Linked DNA regions of Homo sapiens: region 2 is linked to region 1. The links are contacts of gene promoters, found by promoter capture Hi-C in human tissues and cell types (Jung and others, 2019). All regions are on one chromosome and are shown on one strand. The core of a region is centred on a gene start or on the middle of the fragment in contact, and the rest is flanking DNA. Distances in the headings are between cores, read along the strand shown. Region 1 holds the start of LIG4 (DNA ligase 4). Region 2 overlaps NALF1 (NALCN channel auxiliary factor 1).

Region 1 (4,831 bases), core at 2,317-4,816:
AAAATGCCCTACCCATAAAATCCTCACTTTATCTATTTTACCATAGTTACTTACTGTCTTATAAGTATAAATTTATTAGTATGCTGCTTTTTTCATATTTCCATGCCAGTTATTCCCTGAGTATTTAATGACTACATATGAGATGTGCTACATACACTGTGCTAGGGGAAAATACTGCATGTTTCTGCTTTAAAAGAAAATATATTCTGTAAAAAAAAAAAAAGAAAAAAAAGAAAAGAAAAAAAGGGGGGGAGTGTAGTGGAAACTGAGTATAATAAAATGCCAAGTGCTTTAACAAAATAAAACAAACGTAAAATGTCCTGAGGGGAGAGCTTTTCCCTAAAGTATCTGCTAAAGTCAGAGAAGAAATAATGGGTACCTTGCTAAGCTAGGGCAAGAATATTTCCTAAAATTTCACAAGTGTAAATTTCTTTAGTTTTAAATATTCATACAAGTTCTACTGGAAGATAAATATATTAGAGTAATTTTAATATGGTTTAAACTATGTAATGTTAAATAACTTTTCCAAAAAAAGATTTCAAGTAAAATGTATGGTCCATGAATAGAAACTATGTTTTATCCTGTGGTTTCAGACCCCTCCTGGCACACCACCATGTATCCCAGGCAGTGGAGTTGGAGAAGTTTTGCTGGGAGTGGGGAGATCTATTACAGTGCAGAAAATATGTGACTCCCCATCTTCCAATTCGCAAACAAATGAGCAACACACACATGCACAAGGCTACATTATCTAGTATCCAGTAAAATAAATCAAATGGCTAATTACAATACTACATTTACTATACTGTCAGTATCTAGAGGCCAGGAATTGTGCTGTAATTTGTGCTCTAGTGGCAGACATGTAGGAGGTTTGCTGAATGAATTACTGAACACCTAGAGTTGACTCCTGGATAAGCACACTAGGGAAAGCTATGGTCTGGTTACATACCACACACTCACACACGCACGCAGACACACAGTGGGTGAGATTCAGTTTGGTTAAAAATATTCAGTAGCTCTGACTGCCCTGGCAATGGTTTACAACAGCCATTTGGTGGCCTATAGAGAAAAAAGGTGCACTTCTCAGTCTAATTTCTGACAAAGGAAACCCAGCTTCTACTGAGTGGGTTAGATCGAGGGATAAACGCATGACAGACCACTTTCCTGAAACTTTTATCTTTGAATATACTGTTGTTTCCTCTCTCTGAATCTGGTTTGCATAACTGACTGTAACACCTGGTTATGTATGTTCACTGCCCTATCTCCCAAAATTTGCTCCCTCAAGGGAGTAAACAGGGTACACAATGCTATATCTACAATTTCTATATAAACTATGTAAAATAAAGTAGGTTAACTAATATTTCTTTAATATTCAAATATTGGTATATAGTTTCTACAGATATATCTATAGATTCTACATGGTCTCAAAGTTAAAGTTTCGCTCAACAAATCCCAGGCAAGGACTTAAATTACTTTATAATGACAAAATGTAGGTAATGGTGTGGATACACATGTATCCTAAAATGGCTACGCCTATAACAAGGATTCCAAAATTGCCATAAACTAGTCGTAAGTATTTTTGCTCATTACAACGGCATAAAAAGTCAAAGATTAGGACTTCCATTCATTTTTACATGCTAATTTTATTTTTTGGATTCTGAGGATTTTAGCTGATTCATTCCATTTGCAGTAAGACAAATGAGGAGGTTCCTGGTTAGGGCTCAGGTTTTAGACTCTAATAAATCTGAGTTCAAATGTGGATGGTAACATTTAACAGCTGTGTGATACTGGGCAATTACTTAATTTCTCTAAGCTTCAGTTTCCTAAAGTATAAAATGGGGTTAAAAACTATGTAGAAATTAGAATGAAGATAAAAATCAGATAATCTACAAAATGTGCTTTAAAAAGTAGTAAGTCTTGATAATTTTAATACTATAATGCTTGCTGATCCAAGCAACATTTAAAATATAAATATTGCAAAATATTAACGAGATAAAAAGGTGGGAAGAAGCTTCACTCTTTAACAATAAGCAAAGCTTTCAGGAGAATGAATGCAAGCAATTAGTACACAATAACGATTCATCATTCATTCAGTTCTGACTAAATTGTCCTGAAGTGACACATGAAAATAAACCGGCAGGTTTTATTCAGTGACTATGGAAGGTGATTAAGTGCTATGCTATTGCACTTAAAAAAGAGAGAGGAAAAAAAGGAGTAAGTGACGAATGCAACTGAAGTATCCTTCATGCAACCCTTGACAAGCTGTGTTTCCCTAGGAAACAAAGGGTTTACAGCTGCCTATCTTCCACAGCACTTAGTGACAATTTGGGACAATCTCAGCAAAAAGAAATGAGCAGACAAAGACGCTAGAAGGGCTTTGGGATCCCAAAAGTTAATGAAAGACCAAGTGTAAGAAGAGAAATAAAGTAATTCCCTCCAAGCCTAAAGTCTCTCCCGCTCCAATGCCCCCTGTACCCTCTCGGAAAATGGAAAATCCCTAAGGAGTCTACATCATTCCTCTGCCCGTTCCCCCTACTCTCCCCCAACCCTTCACGGATTCCCAGTGAATACCTGGCCTCGGGCAAGCTCCGTTACCTCTGTGAACCAGAGAATCCCAGCTGTAAAATGAGATCTTGATGGTTTCCTGCGGGGTTGCCATGAGAAAGAATCAACATGTACGCAGGTAAAGCAGGCAATACAGTTCCAGGGAGTCAAAAACGGGAGAAATCGTCCCACGACCTGGGGCTTGGGTCTAGATGAAGAGCACAGCATCAGGAGGCCAGGCTTCTAATGCGGCGCAGTCTACAGCGCTGTGGACTCGGCAACTCCCATCACCTGCCGCTGCACAAACACCCTGCTTGCTGCCCCCATAGACCGACCCCCGCCTGACGCCTCCCAGACCCCCCCACCTGACGCCCCTCAGGCCCCCCGCCTGACGTCCCAGACACCCCCACGACCGGATCCCCCAGACCCCCAATCTGACGCCCCACTTCCCCTACTTGACTCCCCACACATCCCCCGCCTGACGACCCCCCGACCCCCGCCTGACGTCCCAGACACCACCCATCTGATCCCCCAGACCCCCAATCTGACGCCCCACACCCCCCACTTGACTCTCCACACACCCCACACCTGCCACCCCACGTAAACCCCGCCTGACACCTCACAGACCCTAACCTGACGCCCCACAGACCTCCCCCGCCTCCTGCCGCCACACACACCCCAAACCCCGCCCCGAACACCCCCCACCTGCCGCCCCACAGATTCCCCCCTCTGACGCCCCACAGACCCCCAACGTGACGCCCTACAGACCCCAACCTGACGTCCCACAGATACCCCGCCTGACGCCCCACAGACCTTCCCCCGGTCTGTTGCCCCACAGACTTCTCGCCGCCTGCTGGACCACACCTTCCACTTGACTCCCCCCACACCGTCAATCTGCCACCCCCCACCCCCCCCACCCCAACCCCCCCCAACCTCCCAACCGCCCCCACCTGCCACCCCACACCCTTCCCACCTGACGTCAAGCCTGAAGCTCAGCCGCTAAGCCGGAAGCTGGCGCCAGAAGATGCCGGTTCCGCCAGCTGCTCGCCGCGCAGGCGCAGGGGAGACCCGGGGCCTTGCAGTCACCGGGCTCAAGCACGCCGGCGCAGCCAGGCTCGCGATGGGAGGTGGGGGGGCCGGCAGCCCCGTGGGGCTGCGGAGGCGGGACCTGCAGGATCCTGGTTAGGGTCTTGAGTACACACGGCTCCTATTGGCCTCGGCAGCAGATGCTCTCTGCAAGCAGTTGATCCACACGCCAGTGGATTTTGTCTCGAGGGAGACCTAAGATCACTTTGTGCTCTGGCTAGTGATAGCCTCTAATTCTTGTTCTCTGTACGTAAAACAGTGGTAACTATACTGATTTCGCTGGTTGTGAAAACTCCCAAGAGAGAACAGGACATCCTCCCAACTCAAAACGTTGGTTGTTTCATTTAAACTTTTAAAAAATAGGCTTTTGCAAACTATATAGAGCTGTTTTTTTTTTTAAATGATGTTTGCTACTGTGGTCTCAGTTCTCTTAATACAGAAATAATACATAACAATACATAACTTACAATATAGAAATAAACCGTTGCATGACCAGAAATCAACTATGGACTCTTCTAGTATCTGTTTAAGGTTTAAAAATAAAGTTATTTAACAAACCTTTATTGAGCACCTATTATTATATAGTAATGGTGCTAGATATTCAGGGTGGAGAGATTATAAACAACCCCAGTTTTTGTGTTCCAGGAGCTGTTGGTTTCCACCGAATTTTTGCTGTGGTCAGTCCTCTTTCGCCATGGAGAAGTGAGAAGTTATTCATAAAGAGGGGTGGAAACAACTTTTAGAACTATTTTATTTTAGCATAAAATATTGCTTTACAATAAAATAAATTTTGCTGCAGTGGGCCCTGATAAAACATATTAGAGCTGTTAAGTGCCCTTAGAGGTTGTGTAATGTATAAAAACCTCCTTTTTCAAAACTGACACATTTCATTCAGTGCTAGTTTGTAGCGGAGGTTCCGTCTAGCCCAAGAACATTCAGTTATTTACTTCGTATGTCTAATTGACCTAATATGCCTGAATATCTAAAATCATCTGTGATGTTGTAAAGTCTCATGATATTGTTTTGTGAGTATCTGCTCTTCAATTTAGTTATCAATTTATTTTGGAGGAAAAATGAATAGTGTTAAGGTAGAGGAGCCTCCACTTGCCCATCTTAGGAGAGGGTACCTATCCGTGTACATTTGTAGCTTGTTCAACCTCTACTGAGCTCCTACAATGTCAGAAGCTGGACTTTGTATTAGTTA
Region 2 (4,311 bases), core at 283-2,782, 950 kb before region 1:
GACCAAAGAGGTACAGTCAAGCAAAGTGATGTAAGAAGTACAAATTGATAAAAGAGAGTCTAAAGGGGATTGGAAACATGAAAGGTTGCCAGGGAGGTGGAGGGAAGGAGATGGAGGTGGGCATGACCATAAAAAAAAACAACATAAAGAATCTTTATAGCGAGAGCGCTGTGTGTTGTCTGTGGTGGTCTATACAGTAGTCCCCTGTGTATGTTAAAACACATATACAGTAGAGACCCTGTCTATGCTAAAAAAAATGTATTCCACTCATTGGAGAAGGATGCATTCCAGGATCCCCAGTGGATGCCTGAAACCACAGATGGTACTGAATCCTATATGTACTGTTTTCTTCTTGTACACACATACCTACGAAGAAGTTTAAAAGATTAACAACAATAATGAATAATAAAGTAGAACAATTATAACAATATGCCAGCCTCACTCCACCCTTGTGCTTTGGGCCATTCTTAAGTAAAATAAGCACTACCTGAACACAAAGACAGCAACACCACACCAGTCGATCTGATAACCGCGATGGCTACTAAGCGACTAACAGGCTGGTAGCATAGACAGCCCGGACAAAGGGAGGATTCACGTCTCGGGCAGGACAGAGCCAGATGATGTGAGATTTCATCACACTACTCAGAATGATGAGCAATTTAAAACACATGAATTGTTTTTTTCTGGAATTTTTTTTTTTTTTTTTTTTTTTGAGATGGAGTCTTGCTCTGTCACCAGGCTGGAGAGTAGTGGCGCGATCTCGGCTCACTGCAACCTCCGCTTCCCAGGTTCAAGGGATTCTCCTGCCTCCGCCTCCCAAGTAACTGGGAACACAGGCATGCACCACCACCACACCCAGCTAATTTTTGTATTTTTAGTAGAGACTGGGTTTTACCATGTTGGCCAGGATGGTCTCAATCTCTTGACCTCATGTTCTGGCCGCCTCGGCCTCCCAAAGTGCCAGGATTACAGGTGTGAGCCACCGCACCCAGCCTATTTCTGGAATTTTCGATTCAATATTTTGGGACCATGGTTGATGGAGGGTAACTGAACTCATGGAAAGTGAAACCACAGATGAGGGGGGACTACTGTGCCCAAAGCTACCTATGTGATAAAATTGTATACAACACCCACACACACACACATACTCGAGGAGTACAAACAAATCAGTAGAAACACGAATATGATTCTTGGATTGTATCACTGTCAGTATCCTGGTTGTGATAATTGTACTATATTTCTGCAAGATAATACTGTTGGAGGAACCTGGGTAAAGGATGTGTAATATCTCTCTGTATATTGTTACAACTACATGTAAATCTACAACTATTTCAACAAAAAGCTCAATTAAAGTGGGACTAATAATTTATCCTGATGAATTAGATGATATTCTTTAAAAAGTCATATTTAAGCTAAGACCCAGAATTAGAAGTTAGGAGGGTTAAGAGAAGTCAGGGTCCAGGGGACGGTATTCCAGTCAAAAGAAGCAGTGTGTTTGGAGGCACGAATAAAAGTTTCATTTGCCAAATGTAGGGAGAACAACAGGGTAGTCAAGAGTAACTGAAGGGCCAGATTTTTTAGGGCATTAAAACCATAATAAGTATTTTGTTTGCTTTTCTCTGAGGGTAGTTTATTTTAAGGATGATAGTAATGTGATTAGATGAGTGTTTTTCTATTATCTCTCTGGGTGTAGAGTGAAAATTGGATTCGAAATCAGGAATAAACTGGGAGTGGTGGTGCACGCCTGTGGTCCCACGTCCTTGGGAGGCTGAGGTGGGAGGATGGTTTGAACCCAAGAGGTCCAGATTGCAGTAAGCTATGATCACACACTGCACTCCAGCCCGGGAGACACAGTGAGACCCTGTCTATGTTTAAAAAAAAAAAAAGAATTTAAAAAAATAGAAATTGAGAAATTGTGGGTGGGAGTACAGTACTTTAGTAGCTACAGCAATAGTCAGGGGGGTTCACGAGAACTAAGCAAAATGATGGTGATGTGGCTGGAGGAAAATGGGTAGATTTGGGAGGTCTTTAAGAAGCAAAAGACATGGAGTTGGTAATTGATTGGATAAATTTATATCTTGCAGAGTGGATAGTAAATGTTATTTACTATAACCAGAAACACCTGAAAAAAAGTCAGGGGTCCAGGGATCAGATAGTATGATTGATTGTGGAAAGGCTTTGGAGATGAATATGTTTATAGTATTTTAAAATAGGTCCTGTATCAAGGTTTGAACTTATTTGTATTTCTGTATGTGAATTTCTGTGTTGCAAATCACCCATGGTTTATAGAGTCATATTTAGAACAGAACAACTAAGAGTGTCCTTTTTTCCCCATTATATTGTACTCTACACAGGTAATGACAGCAAGTCACCCAAAGATGTAAAGTCATGATCATCGTTGGTCTATGTCAGGCAACAGTTCCAAGAGGACAGAGACCTCCAGAGAGGGAGGAGACGTGGAGAACACTTGTGATGTTACAAGCAATTCTGTTTTATTATATAAGGAAGAAATATGTTTCTTTTTTTTTTTTGCAAGCTCCGCCTCCCGGGTTCACGCCATTCTCCTGCCTCAGCCTTGGAGTAGCTGGGACTACAGGTGCCCACCACCACGCCCGGCTAATTTTTTTTTTTTTTTTTTTTTTTTTTTTTTGTATTTTTAGTAGAGACGGAGTTTCTCCGTGTTAGCCAGGATGGTCTCGATTTCCTGACCTCGTGATCCGCCCGCCTCGCCCTCCCAAAGTGCTGGGATTACAGGCGTGAGCCACCGCGCCTGGCCAGAAATATGTTTCTTATAACATCACTTTCAATTGTGAATGATGCAGGATTATTTGAAACTGACCACCTATATGAGGCCATCAAAATGTAAAAGTTTCTATTCCAGGAATAATCAAGCTTTTTTCAGAATATTGAAAATTTATTTTCTATGTCAAACTTTTGATCATTCCTTGAACTGAATTATTAATGGTTTCCAAGAACAAATCCTAAAGACCAATTTTACTGCAATCTCATTTATCAAGGCAATACATGCACTATACACTATGTTAATTTTTAAGTGGGGATCAAAATAGGAAAAACTATACATTTTAATACATTAAAATATTGCATATATTTTGGTAAATGTACCACCTGGACTTAGTAAAGTACTAATATGAAGTTAATAAAAATTATGTATTTAGCAGAAGAGTGAACGAATGATTAAGTTAAAGGTATTTCAAGATGTTAGGTGTGATTTTCAGTATAGAAATTCATATTAAAGTATAACTTTAAATATAAAACTAAATTATTTTGATTACATTAATTTTCTGTGAGGTTTTAGTCAAGGATAAAAATAAGGAAAACTGGAAACTTTGTTGATAGTTATATATATATATATTTTTATTATTATTATACTTTAAGTTTTAGGGTCCATGTGCACAATGTGCAGGTTTGTTACATATGTATACATGTGCCATGTTGGTGTGCTGCACCCATTAACTCGTCATTTAGCATTAGGTATATCTCCTAATGCTATCCCTCCCCCCTCCCTCCACCCCACAACAGGCCCCGGTGTGTGATGTTCCCCTTCCTGTGTCCATGTGTTCTCATTGTTCAGTTCCCAACTATGAGTGAGAATATGCGGTGTTTGGTTTTTTGTCCTTGCGATAGTTTGCTGAGAATGATGGTTTCCAGTTTCATCCATGATTTTAAAAGAAATGTTAAAGGCAGTATCAGCTATGCCAAATTTAAGTAGTATATTCTTAGGTACGTTCTGAAGCATCCGTCTCAGATTTCTTATGTATGAAATAATAATATTCTTCTTCATTTGGTAGTTTGTAGTAGACAGAATTCTAAGATGGCTCCATGACCTCTACCACTGATGTTACTCTCAAGATTATGTAACATTACATGAAAAAAGGAATCGTGCAGCTGTAGTTAAAGTTACTAATCATTTGACCTTAATATAGAGACATTATCTGGGTGGGCCTAACTTAATCGCACTCCAGTTTCAACTGGCTGGCAGTAGAAGAGGAAGTTAGAAAGAGTTGAACCCTGCAGGGGTGGTATTTGATGTGTAAGAAGTTCTGGCCTTTGAAGATGGAGGAGTCACAAGACAGGAAATGTGGGAGGCCTCTGCAAACTGAGGGCAGCCCTCCACTGGCAGCCACAGGCAAAGGAAAAGTAATTACTTGGGACACAGCCAGGGACAATGGAATTGCTCCAATAGCCTGAATGAGGCTAGACGACTGGGGCTGCAGAGGAGGATGCAGACTGGCTGAGACCCTGAGCTGAGAACTCAGCCAGGCTGTGCTCAGGTATTGCAAGATAGCAAGT

Evidence for each region. Contacts are between HindIII fragments. The study calls those that stand out against the background at their distance.
Region 2: a fragment that was not itself captured here is called in contact with the fragment with the promoter of LIG4 in region 1 in 1 of the 25 tissues and cell types used here (dorsolateral prefrontal cortex).

Annotation. Positions count from the first base shown.
Region 1 is chr13:108,211,970-108,216,800 of GRCh38, forward strand. LIG4 (DNA ligase 4) reads right to left here and starts at 3,567. Exons shown (of 3, transcript NM_206937.2): 1 at 3,515-3,567; 2 at 2,569-2,641. RefSeq lists an enhancer at 3,492-3,786 and a silencer at 3,630-3,769. The HindIII fragment of the contact is 8,794 bases long and covers 419-4,831 here.
Region 2 is chr13:107,267,294-107,271,604 of GRCh38, forward strand. All of the region lies in intron 1 of NALF1 (NALCN channel auxiliary factor 1), which reads right to left. Among named protein-coding and RNA genes, the nearest start is that of SNORD31B, 52 kb to the right of the region's middle. The HindIII fragment of the contact is 4,400 bases long and covers 1-3,732 here.